3 separate regions of the Homo sapiens genome follow, and all the other regions are linked to region 1. The links are contacts of gene promoters, found by promoter capture Hi-C in blood cells and fetal thymus (Javierre and others, 2016). All regions are on one chromosome and are shown on one strand. Each heading gives the region's core, a stretch centred on a gene start or on the middle of the fragment in contact. The rest is flanking DNA. Distances are from core to core; before and after follow the strand shown. Region 1 holds the start of POLA1 (DNA polymerase alpha 1, catalytic subunit). Region 2 has its middle 10 kb from the start of SUPT20HL1. Region 3 has its middle 36 kb from the start of SUPT20HL1.

The links. Contacts are between HindIII fragments. The CHiCAGO score rates a contact against its expected background, and 5 or more counts as called.
Region 2: a fragment that was not itself captured here is called in contact with the fragment with the promoter of POLA1 in region 1 in 1 of 17 cell types (M2 macrophages); the score reaches 5.1 in M2 macrophages.
Region 3: a contact is called between a fragment that was not itself captured here and the fragment with the promoter of POLA1 in region 1, in 1 of 17 cell types (total B cells). The highest score is 6.5, in total B cells.

What each region holds. Positions count from the first base shown.
Region 1 is chrX:24,691,477-24,696,353 of GRCh38, forward strand. POLA1 (DNA polymerase alpha 1, catalytic subunit) reads left to right here and starts at 2,442. Exons shown (of 37, transcript NM_001330360.2): 1 at 2,442-2,528. The coding sequence starts at 2,486. RefSeq lists enhancers at 411-911, 2,614-2,703 and a silencer at 2,264-2,423. The HindIII fragment of the contact is 2,747 bases long and covers 1,282-4,028 here.
Region 2 is chrX:24,368,224-24,373,100 of GRCh38, forward strand. No RefSeq gene overlaps it. Among named protein-coding and RNA genes, the nearest start is that of SUPT20HL1, 10 kb to the left of the region's middle. RefSeq lists an enhancer at 3,283-4,058. The HindIII fragment of the contact is 233 bases long and covers 1,977-2,209 here.
Region 3 is chrX:24,394,459-24,399,335 of GRCh38, forward strand. No RefSeq gene overlaps it. Among named protein-coding and RNA genes, the nearest start is that of SUPT20HL1, 36 kb to the left of the region's middle. The HindIII fragment of the contact is 362 bases long and covers 1,845-2,206 here.

The DNA of each region.
Region 1 (4,877 bases), core at 1,192-3,691:
ATATACTTAAGTTATTGATAGACTTTTTTTTTTTTTTGAGACAGAGTCTCACTCTGTCACCCAGGCTGGAGTGCACTGGCACAATCTCGGCTCACTGCAACCTCTGCCTCCCGGGTTCAAGCTATTCTTCTGCCTCAGCCTCCCAAGTAGCTGGGACTACAGGCGCCTGTCACCACACCCGGCTAATTTTTGTATTTTTGGTAGAGATGGGGTTTCATCATATTGGTCAGGTTGGTCTTGAACTCCTGACCTCATGATCTGTCAGCTTCGGCCTGCCAAAGTGCTGGGATTACTGGCGTGAGCCACAGCGCCGGGCTGTTATTCATAGACTTCTTGGTGTAGGAATAGCTTCCAGGAATATTTCTACCCCAGTGTGATGACTTACCAGGAGTTTTGAACTGAAAGTGTAGGGCCAGAAGACATATCATGGTATGAAAGTGTCTGGCCTGGCATGGTGGCTCACACCTGTAATCCCAGCACTTTGGGAGGCTGAGATGAGTGGATCACCTGAGGTCAGGAGTTCAAGACCAGCCTGGACAACATGGTGAAACCCCATCTCTACTAAAAATACAAAAATTAGCCAGGTGTGGTGGCGGGCGCCTGTAATCCCAGCTACTCGGGAGGCTGAGGCAGTAGAGTCGCTTGAACCTGGGAGGTGGAGGTTGCAGTGAGCCGAGATGGTGCCACTGCATTCCAGCCTGGATGACAGAGCGAGACTCCATCTCAAAAAGAGAAAGTGTCCTACAGGTCTTTTCCCACAAAGTATGTGGGTCATTGTCTCAGTCTGTTCAGGCTGCTATAACAAAATACCACAAACTGGGTGGCTAATAAACAACAGGAATTTATTTTTCACAGTGCTGTAGGCTGGGAATTCCAAGATCAAGGTGCCGGCAGATTCAGTGTTTGGGGTAGGCCCACTTTTTGGTCCATAGATGGTGCCTTATTGCTCTGTTCTCACATGGAAGAAGGGGCAAGGCAGCTCTCTGGAGCCTCTTTTCCGAGGGCACTAATCCTATTCATGAGGGAGGGTTCCTGCTGATGACCTAATCACCTCCCAGAGGCCCTACCTCCTAACACCACCACACTGGTGATTAGGTTTCAACGCATACATTTTATGTGGAGAGAAACATTCAGACCACAGCAGTAGTGAAAGAGAAAAGAGGTTTGAAATGCCTAGAGTTATACCCGGGCATGTGGGAAGTAATCAGCTGTGAAATTGTTAAGGTAAGGATTTGGTTCTTATTAATGACTAGCCAACATGGTTCTCTCCTGGTTGGAAAAAGCTTGATAATAAAACTATAAAACTTCCATCAGTTTTTAAAAGGGAAGTGTAGGAATAAATCTGTCGTAGTACTTTAAATAGGAAGTTATGTCTAAGTGTAAATTACTACATGTTATGTATCACAACATATGGATCACATAACATGATATTAAATGATTATGAAGCTGAAAGACATTTTCTAAACAATCAGAAATTAAGAAACAAGTATTGATCAACCATGCTAGAAGACAGATTGAATTATCTTTATATCCTCTTTGGAGAAAATATTACAAAATTGTTGTCACATGAAGAAGGGATCAATAAGCATGTGGGCAATAATGTAGGAAAAAATACAAATGTGTGGCAGGCATTATTTAATAAAAATGTTATACCTTTTTGGAAAGAGATAACATGAGATGTACACATTACAGCCATTGTATCATACACAAAAATTGAATACCCTTTTTGTTTTTCATAACATTGAAATTTTGGAGTTCACGTCAGGTGTTTTGTAGATTGTCCTACATTTTGAATACATCTGATTGTTTCTTCATGGTTAGATTCAGGTTAGACATTTTTTGCAAGAAGACCATATAGGCGAAGTTTTTCCTTTTTCATACGCATTACATCAGGAGGCATATGAGATCAGATGGCCATTTATTGGTAATGCTACTTCTGGTTATTTGGTTAAGACGGAGCATATATCTTTAAGTTGTTAATCACACAGCCACTGTATCCAGACTGCTGAGAAGCAAACTATCAGGCAAAATTCAGGGCGCGCAGCAGGAGGCAGTCGCTTTCCCGGCTCTGGGGAAAACGATCCAACCACGCCCACTCTCCTGCCCGCCCGCGCCTCCTTTCCGGGAAAATGGGCTCTGAGAACCAGAGCGCCCTTTCTCCCACGCGCCCAAATCTTTTCCCATCAGCATGCGTGCGCTTGCGCAGTCTCCAGGCGGCTCCTTTCCAGCGCCCGACCGCTTCTTTCTCCTGCTCTCCTCCGGCTTCCCCTCAGCTCTAGCTTTTCCCTAAGGGGTCATCACAGGGCGCCAAACGCGCGTCCGCGGGAAGGCCGGGGGCGGAGCGCGGCGCGGCGCGGCACGTCAGTGGCCTTCCGGCCGGAAGTCCGCAGCCTCCCGAGCCGCTGATTGGCTTTCAGGCTGGCGCCTGTCTCGGCCCCCGCGCCAGTTTTGGGCTGGTTGGCGCGGAATCGGGAGATTCGGGACCATGGCACCTGTGCACGGCGACGACTGTGAGATAGGGGCGAGTGGTGAGGGACAATTCCGCGCGCGGGGCTCCGGGTTGGGACAGTGGCATGATTGCCGGTGGTGGGGGTTCTGAGGGAGGCGCACACCCGGGTTTGTTTGGGCGCAGACCTTGGTCGTCCCCGGCGGGGGCCCTTCTGGCGTCGGACCGGGCTTCCTTTAGGCGCGGTTTGCTCTTGGAGGACCAGAGCCTGGAGGGATTTTTGTTTGGGAGGCTGTCTCACCTCTGCCACTGAGAGTCTCCACAGTCGATTGCGTTTCTATTTCTTTTGGTGAGTTGCACCCACGTGCTGGGTATAACTTTATTGAGACTGGCCCCGTGGGGCCGAAAGTATTTCACTGCGATCTCCCTAAGTATCCACTTGAAGGCTTGAACAGAACAGATCTGTGTCCCTTTTTGTAGGAACTTCCAGGAAAATTTTATACATTGTAACTAAGCAGGAAAGAAAGCTCTAAGTGCTGTCATCGGGGAATAACGCGTTTTGTATTTTTAGGTAATGGGTTTCTACTTTATGCATTAACAATTTTTCTTTCAGATTCTTTGGAAAGTTCTTCAAGTGCTGCGTAGAAATCCTGTTCACAATCTAGTCATTCCTGGTGAAGTTTCAAAAAAATGGCATCAATTTAGGGCATTTCGGATCCCCTGTATATCACTCCGTTTGTCAGGGGTGTCTTTTATTTCCAAAAATAGAATACAAAAATGCAAATAGATTTGTCTGATTTTTTAAGTGTTCAACTAAAGCGTGACTTCAGTTAACTTCTAACTTAAAATCAGATGCTTCACTTTGTTAGCTCAAGCGTCACCTCTCCTGTCATTCAGATACATCACCATTAATGAGAACTCGCTTCCTAATCAGCTTCCTTTGCATTCACCTAGTTGTGAGTCACAGATTTCAATTTGTTCTAGCCGTTCGTTTTTTAAGACTATTTTGGAGAGTCGACCTGCCTGGATTACAGATAGGATGTTGGGTGTAAGTATGTGAACGAACAGTCTTTGCAGGCCTCTATCAGTGATTTGCCACTAAGCCCTTTCTTCATCCTAAAAACTACGTCATCTATGAACATCAGGAAATCACTTTGGAGGATACTGTGCAATCTTGAGACTCCTCTTAGGTCATGGTGTTCATTAAGTAGTTGCTGGGGACTTGTGACTGGAATTTTTCCTTTAGAGCAGACTGAAGGATTGTTACCTGAAAGACTGCTGTAAGCTAGTGTCTGTCTGCTTTTGGGGAGGATAGAGATACTCCAGATGGTAATTTTGAAACAAATATTTAAACCTTTGTAGCTGGATTTTTTTCATGCTTATTCTTTTTTTGCTAAGTTACCTACGTGAAGCATTGGAGACATACTCCAAAAAACAAAATGTAGGCTTTTTTTTTTCTTCAGTATTAGCAGGCAGGGCACCTTGATAATGGCAGTGAAAAGTTGAAAGGTCTGTAACTAGCTGTTACTATATATGAAAAAAGATCAGGGAATTTTTATTTATTTATTTATTTTTGAGACAAAGCTTCCCTCTTGTTGCCCAGACTGGAGTGCAGTGACGTGATCTCAGCTGGCTGCAACCTCTGCCTCCTGGGTTCAAGCAGTTCTGCCTCAGCCTCCCGAGTTGCTGGGATTACAGGTGCCCACCACCACACCGGCTAATTTTTTGTATTTTCAGTAGAGACAGGGTTTCACCATGTTGGCCAGGCTGGTCTTGAACTCCTGATGTCAGGTGATCCACCTGTCTCTTCCTCCCAAAGTGATGAGATTACAGGCATGAGCCACTGCGCCCGGCCAGGGAAAGTTTAATGATCAAAAAAGCAGGTACAGTGGTTCATTCATTGGTTCATTCAGCAAATATTTATTATATACCTACTAGGTATAAGCCTTCTGCCAGGCTCTGGCATTATGATGGTGGGTAGGCTGGACATGGTTTGTCTTCATGAAGTACAGATGGTAAACATCTAATCATATGCAGAAAACGGCTTTGCTTTGTTTTTGCCTTCTAAAGCTAGACCTTGGTACTCTTAGGTATGGTGTGTGTGGGGTATGTGGATGTGTGTTTGACTTCACACGCGGAAGCGTTACATGAGCCGCTCCTATATTGCTAAGTGCAAAGTAAGATAGGCATCTTCATGTAATCCTTAACAGATTTTGAAGCAGACATGATTATCCCCATTTCACAGATGTGGACCCTGAGGCTCTGCATCAGTCAGAGCCCCTATCTGTAAGCTGCAGGAACCAACTCTACCAGATTGGTTAGAATTTGTTAGAAGAATATTGTGTTCACAGAAACTCCAGGAGGACTAGTAAGCCAGTCTGGGAGCTGTTTAGCCAGGAACAGTGAGTGAAATTGTGCCACAAAAATGGGC
Region 2 (4,877 bases), core at 843-3,342, 320 kb before region 1:
TATTCCTTGAGAATAATTGCAAGTGAAGAGAGGACTCTAGCCCTAGAACAGGGCTATCCAATAGAAGTATAATATGAGACCCATATATAATTTTAAATTTTCTAGTAGTCACATTTTTTTAAAGTAGAAAGAAACGAGACATTCATTTTAATAATAATTTCTGTTTAACCAAATATATCCCAAATATCATTCCTATGTTATCAATATTTTAAAATTCTCAATGAGGCATTTTACATGAGGCTTCCGACTGCAGAGACTCTCAATTCATATACCAAATTTTCATCAAATATTTGATCTGTATTTAGATTTTGTAAACCTTATAGTTGAAAATGTAGATTCACTTTCCAAACATACTTGGAAGTTTTCCCATAATTGAATCAAGTACAAGTTTTAAAATTTAAATTAATTAAAAGTACATGAAATTTAAAATTAGTTCCTCAGTCTTGCTTGTCACATTTCAAGTGCTTAATAGCCATGTATGGCTAGTGGCTATTGTGTGGGTCAGCGCAGTTCTAGAGGGACAGGAGCAAAGCAGATTATGGGGACAGAGCATCAGGCATGACCTGGGTTTGGGGCACACAGGTGGAGTGAGATTTATGATGCTGATTGCATGTAGTGGGCTGGAGCTTCTTGAGATCCTCATGGCCTATGGTCATCTGGGCCAGGACCTGCAGGATCAAGTCGCCCCAGCCATGGAGCGAGGAGGGTGGAAAAGGTCAGTCTTTTGCCAGGCTCTGTACAGCCATATGCAAAAGACCTACCAGGAGGACACTCATTTTCCCAGCAGTCAACTCAACAACCCGTATCTACCCTAAAGTGCTTGGAACCTAAGGGAGTGGGAGAGAGGAGAGGCACTGCACTTTTTTTTCTTTTTTTTTTGAGGTGGAATCTTCCTCTGTTGCCCAGGAGAGCAGTGGCGTGATCTCGGCTCACTGCAACCTCTGCCTCCCGGGTTCAAGTGATTCTCCTGCCTCAGTCTCCCAAGTAGCTGGGATTACAGGTGCCCGCCACCACGCCCAGTTAATTTTTGTATTTTTAGTAGAGATGGGGGTTTCACCATGTTGGCCAGGCTGGTCTCGAACTCCTGACCTCAGGTGATCCACCCACCTAGGCCTCCCAAAGTGCTGGGATTACAGGCGTGAGCCACCGTGCCTGGCCGGCACCACTCTTTTATTCTTCCTTTTGCACCTCCTTCCTGTGCATCTTCTGGGTCTCTAGCTCCTCCTGCAGAAGTGAAACCTGATCAGCCATGAGTTGATAATTGTGGGAGCTGCTGGTTGATGGGTATATGGAGACTCATTATACTATTCTACTTCGGCATATGTTTGAAATTCATTTATATATGAATTCATAGATATTATATCCATTTGAATAGTCAAGTTCCTGATATTCCTACAGCCCCATTAACACACCTTCCCCCCATCCCAACCTTTATCTTGTACTCGAAGTCCAGGCCCCAGCCCTCGACTTGCCCTTCTGTCTTCCCTGCTTTACTCCCATAGCAGGCAGCAAAGGGTGTGCGAGTTAATTGTTAAATTCAGTTCAACAAGTTCCTCATTAGGGACAAATTACCTGAGTTTGAAATCTGCTAATTTTCCAATCAGAGTGAGTGTTTGCACTTATGATTTGGAAATAATTACCATATGGTAAAAGCAAAACCTATTTGGGGATTAAAGTAAAGGTGAGGGAGGACAGGAGCTTATTTTGGCAACTTCCCTGGAAACCCACGTTAGCATTTGCAGATTAGTGGAGGTGCCTCTGCAGTTGGGGTGGGAAAGCTCACCTGTAGCACTGTTTTGCAAAGGCTGTTTACTTCATGTGCTAATACCCCTGAAAGGTGACTGTGGCCTTTGAAGGGAGAGCAGTGTGGCTTTTGTAGGCCAGAATTACATCTGGGAAAGAGAAAAGCCTTTTGAATGTAGCTATTTCATCTAAAAATATATCTATACTTTTATTTAAATCTGTCCTCAGTCTGAAGCTTCTGCATGAGTTGGAAATAAAAACATTTCTTTGAGGTAGAAGGGGTGAGTCTAATTGTCCTTTGGGTGATCTCACAATGAATGTAGCAGGGAAAGTTCAACTGAGAGAATTTAAAGAATTATAGGAGAGTAATTGCTGCAGAATACCACTGTGATCCAGAGTGTAGAGATCTAGGTCATTCACCTTCAATAATTTGTCCCAGTCCCAATTACTACATCACTAGTTCTAAAGCTTTAGAAACCCCTTGGTAAAGATTAGTCAAGGTTTCAGGTAATTTACAAGCCAATGCAGAAAAACTTCTGAGATGTTGCTTTTGAAATTTGGAGCCAGGAAAAGCTTTGTCTCTCCTGAGAAGGCATCCTTCCTCCTTTCTGATAACTGTAGTTGTGCAAGTTCTGAGGTTTCTCTTTGTGCCTCAGCTGCCGGGAAACTCAAAACCAAATTTGTAGCTCAAATCGCTGCGTTTACATTTATGGTTGGCACTTCAGCATTCCTCACTTCTTATTTTTTATTTCTACTTTACTAGTTCTTTTTATTTGTCTTTTGTCTTGGGAAACTGGAAACAGCCCCCTCCATGTGTCAACACATCCATCAATAAATAGTAGCTTCTATTCATTTATATATGCTGCCTCTAATCCTTTTAATAACCTAGTCATAATGTCCATTAGGTATGATTATCCTTACTTGCAAGTGAAGAAACAGGCTCAGATAGTCCTTGCCTGAGGCAATAAAGCTATTAAGTGGCACAATTTTTCAGCTCCCTTTCTGTCTGCTTCTGAAGTCTATGCCTTGTGCCTGGGTACATGTAACTGATGCATTGATGAGTCTCAACTCAGTGGTGGACTATACAGGTGAAACCATTTTATTTTTCCCAACCACTGCTTTCAACCATGCAGCACCAAGTCCCTTTTCCCATCCTTTAATGACACCTTGGGTGGACCTCATGACTTGCTGGGCTCTCTTGTTTGGTAAAGCTGACAGTCCCAATTACAATTTCAATATCGTATTCTCTGGTCTGGTGGGTGGGGGAGGACGAGAGAAGGGAGAGAGAAATCTTCCTGCGAAAATGGTCCTTTTGCAGGTGTGATGCTCTGATTTGCTGAGTGAGGTGAAGGGTCTCTGAGCACGGGGCTGGTTCTTTTTTCTGCGGCGACGGTGTTGAACTTCACTTGGATTCTGACTCCTCTGGGGCCTCTTGAAGAGCGGCTCTCTTAGTAAGCCCTGCTGTGCTCCTTCCTGTGGAGCCTTTCCAAATTCAGAAGCTGTGGGCTCACGGGATCAAGGTGGAAGTGATGCTCCCATTTGCTTTCCGGGCACACCGCCCCTCAGTACCTTTTGAACCGCTCACGTTCAGATGTCTCTAGACCACAAGGGGGCACCAGACTCCAGGTTCACATACAACACATCCCTCAAAGAATATGCGTCAAGCTCGCCCACAGTTTCCAAGGCTCCAGGGTGGTCCAGTGTGGGCCTGCGGGTCTGTGCAGCTCCACACGAGCCCAGGCAGTAAAACTGGATGCCAACTTTGCCTTCATGCAGACCTCCGACTCTCCAGGAGCGACCCTCTTAGAGGTCTCCCTTCTACATACAACTCTTGGCTTGGGAGAGCAGGGGAGTCCCAGCACTCCTTTCCTCACCCCTTCCTACTCTGTCCCAAGAAAAGAAAAGCTCCCCCCTCCACCCCAGGAACACTCAACTTCTCTCCCTCCCCTTCCCATCCTCCCGTAGCTACAGAGGCTGGAAAAGAGTGGTTGAAGGGAACGGTCAGAGTCCAAATAGGGCCAGTTCTGCCATCTCTTAGTACTCTCTGAGAACGTGTCTGCTGGCTGGTTGCAGCCCCTCGTTAGGATGTGGGAGCACCTGATGCTTTTTGTTTCCACCTTTGGCAACTCTGGGACAACAGGAAAAGTCCTATCATGCGTGAGCGCCACACACACACGCGCGCGCGCGCGCACACACACACACGCACGCACATACACAAGCACACACACGCACGTGCACACAAGCACGCACACACGCACGCGCGAACACACGCACGAGCACACACACACACAGTGCTTCCCAGCCTTCTCCCATCCTTGCCTATTTAAGATCTCTGGCTTTGCCCTCCCAATTTCCAATGGGAAAGAGCAGAAGGAAAAGCGATGAGGCCTATGGCTGGTGAGACAGGTTTTGGAAGGACTGTTTTGGGTGAGTCTGATAAACTCTAACGAGTTTATTGTAAGACTTGAGAAAGTCAGTGTGAAGCGGGAGGCAGCTTGAGAAACTTTAGCTCTCTACGCCTGTCTTCGCTATGGAGCGCATTCTTTGATATGGAAAAGTGATGCTTCTAAGAACTGTGTAAAGTGTTATGCAAATAGAGCTTCAAAACAAATCCCCTAATGCCCTGCCTTCTTCTAAGCAGGATTACTCTTGGGCTCTAAGCGGCTCCTCTACAGAAATGTTAAACTTCCACTGGAAGTAAGAAGGGGAAGGGGAACGGGGTGATTTTTAACAAGTGATATTTGGAGCTATGCATCTTTTTCATACTCCCTGAGAAGCCAGTTATTTTGAAATGATTGTTTGGCAGTGTTTGGAGAGTGGGAGGTTTGAAGTTGAGATTATGGAGGCTCTTATGGTTATTGATAATGATGAGTTCTACTGTAAAACCATGGTAGTGTGGTTGCCTGTGGTTGATGTCTTAACAGGATCTTTGCAGGAGAGGAGGTCAAGGAGTTGAAGGCCCAGGCTACTGGAAGGATTATCTATGTGGATACCAAAATCATCAAGAATTCATACTGCTGGCATAGTGTTGAAGAGGATGATAATGAGTCAGGCCCTAGAATCTTCAAGGTATGGTGGGGAAGAAGAGGGGTTTGGTTTTAGAGGTCAATTACATCAAGATGACCCTTAATATT
Region 3 (4,877 bases), core at 776-3,275, 300 kb before region 1:
CATTTGGAAAAGGTCTGGACCAGGCTGTGGTAGGGTAGAGAGTAGAACTAAGCCCAGTGGGTTGACATTCCATTGACAGTCCAACGCAGTATGAAACTTCTGAATGCTTAGAAGCAATTAGCATTAAACAACTGCCTCAAGGTAGTGGTGTCTCTACAACAGTAAAGTTTAACCTGAGAGTAACTGAATCTGTCAAGGCTGTTGTAGACAGAATTTTTGTAGAGGATATGAGGCTAGGATCTCAAGCATTCTTTCTTTCTTTTTTTTTGAGACAGAGTCTCACTCTGTCGCCCAGGCTGGAGTGCAGTGGCACGATCTTGGCTCACTGCAACCTCTGCCTCCCGGGTTCAAGTAATTCTGCCTCAGCTGCCCGAGTAGCTGGGATTACAGGTGCCTACCACCATGCCCGGCTAATTTTTGTATTTTTAGTAGAGATGGGGTTTCCCCATGGTCAGGGGGTTTCCCCCCTGACCATGTTGCCCAGGCTGGTCTCGAACTCCTGGCCTTAAGTGATCTGCCCACCTTGGCCTTCCAAAGTGCTGGGATTATGGGCATGAGCCACCACGCCTGGCCCCAAGCATTAGTTCTTAATCTTCTTTAGGCCACGGACTCTTTTGATAATCTGATAAAAATGATAGATTCTCTATGTATTAAAATGCCGGTATGTGCCAACACTACTCTTTATGTTCAATTTCAAGGAGTTCATTTTTCCTAAAGCAGGACTATGGTCCCCAGCTTAAGCCCACCTCTAAAGGGATTCTTCTATCTCTAAAATGCAGCGATTCTAAGTCCTTTCTATAGAAGTTGTATTTTCATGAATCTTTCCTCAGTGACCCTTTGTAAACCTTTTTTTTTTTTTTTTTTTTTTTGAGACAGAGTTTCACTCTTGTTGCCCAGGCAGGAGTGCAATGGCGCGATCTCGGCTCACCGCAACCTCTGCCTCCCAGGTTCAAGCAATTCTCCTGCCTCAGCCTCCCGAGTAGCTGGGATTACAGGCATGCGCCACCACGCCCGGCTAATTTTGTATTTTTAGTAGGGACGGGGGTTTCTCCATGTTGGTCAGGCTGGTCTCGAATTCCTGACTGCAGGTGATCTGCCCACCTCGGCCTCCCGAAATGCTGGGATTACAAGTGTGAGCCACTGTGCCCGGCCTGTAAACATTTTTATGGCTTGATACAAAAAAAGGGGGGTGCTGAGTGTGCTATTTTATGAAACTAGCTGAATGTTCAGGCCGACCAAACATTCTGTCTCCTGATGTATGACTTCCACATTATGGCAGCACTTAAAAATTTTAAACCATCTCTCAGCACCTGTGTGTTTGACACCCACCACACACTATCTAATGCCAAGTCGCAAAGGTTCAACTTTGTAAATCGAAGGACTGATTCAACTTTGTAAATCAAAGGACTGATTCACAGTTATTTGCCTCTTGTTTCCAGCTGTGGTCTGCATCAGGTCGAAGAAATGTTGTAATACACAGAAGCACCACAAGATGACACCCTTGGGAAAGTCTTGCTTTGCAGGTTGGTTTCCCAGCTCTGACGTCTATTCTAAACATAGCCTTACAAAATGCTTGTGGAAGAGGGAAGAGAATCTATTACTGGGGAGGAAAAACACCAATGACAAAACAACCCTGGCACTTTCCTGAGTTTTGGGATACAGAGTCAAGTCTTGATTACTTTCTTCTGCTTCTTAATTATCAGTTTTTGCAGGCAGACACATAGATTTATGTAACACATAAGCATATCTTTCATACACATCTATTTTCTGCCGATGCTGATGCTCTATGTGATTTAGAAGCTGTTCATAACTTGGGAGAAGAGCCTTTCTTCTTTTGTATTGTAAGCTTTCACATCCACTTTTTTTATTGCCTCTGTCCCCTACTTCACTGTCAGTAAGAATATTGGGTTTGCATGGAAACATCATAAAATGCCTTTATGGAAAGAGGAAAGTGTGGTTAGACCAGCTTTTTCTGCCATGAATATCAGGCCAACTGGAGAGAAGATCAAAGCGAAAGGTGAGGGCAGAGTGGGCTAGGATGGAAAGCGGGATTACTCACTGAAATTGACATGTCTGTTCAATCCTTTTGCTCCCTCCAAATTTTTCTTAAAAAAGCAATTAAAAAAACCCCATGTTCATGCTACATTAAGCCTCATGTTTCCATTTCTCATTTTACTGCTTGAGTGGCACTTGCTATCACTTGGTAAGCTTACTTAAGAGAGGGAACAATGTCGATTAGAATACAGTTGTCTGTGTTGAGTAAGAGCCCTCCGTTGGTTTGTGGTCTTTGGCAGGCAGCTAGTAAAAATAATAAGCTCTGAACAGATGCCATGTTTCTTTGGCGAATGGTTTTGGCCAGTCTTCTTTTCATTTTTGTACCTGCAAGTGGAAAATTACTGCTTTAATGAGCTATGTTACCCAGTGGTAAAAATGTTTGAAATTACCCAATGGAGGAAAGCAGTCTTTTGAAAGATTTGTGAGAAGAGGTAATACAAAACCCCAACAAATTCCACTGGGAAATTCTTTTCTTACATTTTATTTCAAGGATAGTTCTGCTAGAAACCTGTATTTCTGAGCAAAGAGCTGTGAAACTGAATTCCAAACTAGTTACAACTGTGGGGAACAAGGCACATAGTCATTTAGAGAGCATCTTTCCTGGCCTGGCTCTGTGCTGGGCATTACTGGCAATGCAGGGATTAAAACGACACTGTTTCTCTCCTCTGGGAGCTTCCAACCTAATGGGAAAGACAAACATACAGAGACCCCATGTTATGCCTGGAATTATAGTTGAGTGCCAAGAGCAAAATAAAATAAAAGTACAGCTCTGCTTGGCTGGGTCTGGCTGCAGCAACTCAAAATCTACTAATATGCAGACGTTCGCAAAGTCAAATTATCTTTTGTCCTTGAAATCTAAGTAGCTGGCTGGATGTGGGTTATTTTTTTTCCTTCTTTTTAATACTTTTCTGTTCTTTGTTGTATTTCTAAAATAAGCATGTTTAGTTTGTTGTTGTTTTTTTTTTTTTTTTGCCCTCTTCATAAAAGCAAGTTGAGTCTGAAAAGGAAAATGTACACTTTTTTTGGGTAATAGTCATAATAATGTTACAAAAGCAAACATTTCCTTAGTGGTTACTATGGTGCCAGGTACTGTTCTAAGTGCTTTTATATATCAACTCATTTTAGTCCTCACAACCACCCTATGAGAGAGGTGCTATTATTACACCCATTTTATAGAGGAACATATGGAGGAAAGGTAACTTGCCCAAGGTTACGCAAGGAGTTAAGTGGCTGAGCAGGCTGGCTCCAGAGTCCAAGCTGCCTAATTTACATTCGGAAGGAAGAGTTTTTTCGCCTAAATTAATTTCCCATGTAACTGATGCTTGTCATCTGTCTCGGGATTGGGCTGGGAGAGAAATGATTTTTGAGAGCAGGATTGGGCTGGCGGGGAGATGCTGGGATTGGAAAGTTAGACCCAAATATGGTTCAGGCACTCAGAGAAGCCTCCAAGTGTTGACCAAAGAGTTTCCAGCTGGTTGGCCTAGACTGGCCTAAAGGGCTTGGGGAAATAGAGTCCTTCTCTAGAAAAGCAGCTGACCCAGTAAGGGAGCATGGAGAAGTGGTTGTAGCAGTGGGAAGGCGGGCAGAGGATCCTGGAGAAAGAGATTGGGGGTTAGGGGTGAGGTTAGGGTTAGGAGTTAGGGTTAGGGTTGGGGATTAAGGTTAGGCATTGGAGTTACATGTTAGGGTTGGGTTTGGGGGGTTAGGGTTAGGTAGTAGGGATTGGAGTTATGTGATAGAATGTGGGGTTAGTGTTGTGGTGGAGTTTGGTGTTTGGGTTAGGGTTAAGGGTTTGAGCAACCATTAGGGCTAGGATTTAGGGTGATTTTTAGGAGTTTAGATTAGGGTTAGCATTAGGATTTCAAGTTTGGTCTAGGGCTAGAGGATAGGGATTAGGGTTAGGAGTTATGATTAGTGTTTGGGTCAGGGCAGGCAGTCAACATACAGCTCTTTTGAGAGGCTGAAAGTGCTGGTCACTTGGCTAGGGTTTGGCAAAAGATATTAGAATCTGGGAGAGTGATTTTCAAGAGTAAAGCAAGAGTCAAGCCTACAAGGAGCTCTGAGTTACAGCCCAAATGAGATTCCCTGAACAGAAAGACAACAGGACCAAAGAAGACTCCGTATAACAGGAGCTGGGCTTGGGTTTGGGGGAGGAGCTATGACCAGGCAGTGCCAGGGCGTAAAGGAAAAGTTCAGGAATCATAACTGGGACACAGCCACAGTCAGGTGACCTGCTACTATAGACATCTTGCAGGATGGGCCCTGGGAACTGAGGGCAGAGTTGAGCTGCAGGGTGAGGTCTAGTGTATGTTTATGTAATTTAATTTTTAATAATGACTGTGTTTAACAACTGGCTTGCAAAATTCCTGATGATTTAACAATCAGCTCTTGCAAGTTGGTGCAAGTCTGTTATAGCATACCGCTGGTCTGAACCCCATAGCCAATCCTTTCTATGACTACCACAGCTGTGTCTACATCATTGAGGCTTCTAGTTACACATGAATACCCAGGAGGGAATTGGTTTATCAGGTGTTACCCACTGAAAAGGGAAACTTTAGAAGCATCCCAGTCACAACATTTGAATTATGGGCTTTGTAGAAACAGCTGTCCTACTGTTTAGTTAAAAAAAAAAAAGCGAAAGAAATTCCCTTGGTATTGGTATGCATGTAGATGCATGGTCCTTTTGGCTGTGTGAGGATGATGCTGTGGAAGAAGTGTTGCATCTCATCATGGTGAAAGATGTGTGCTGAAACCCCCTTCAAGGTGCCTACACACACACACACACACACACACACACACACCATTAGATACTTATTGTCAGT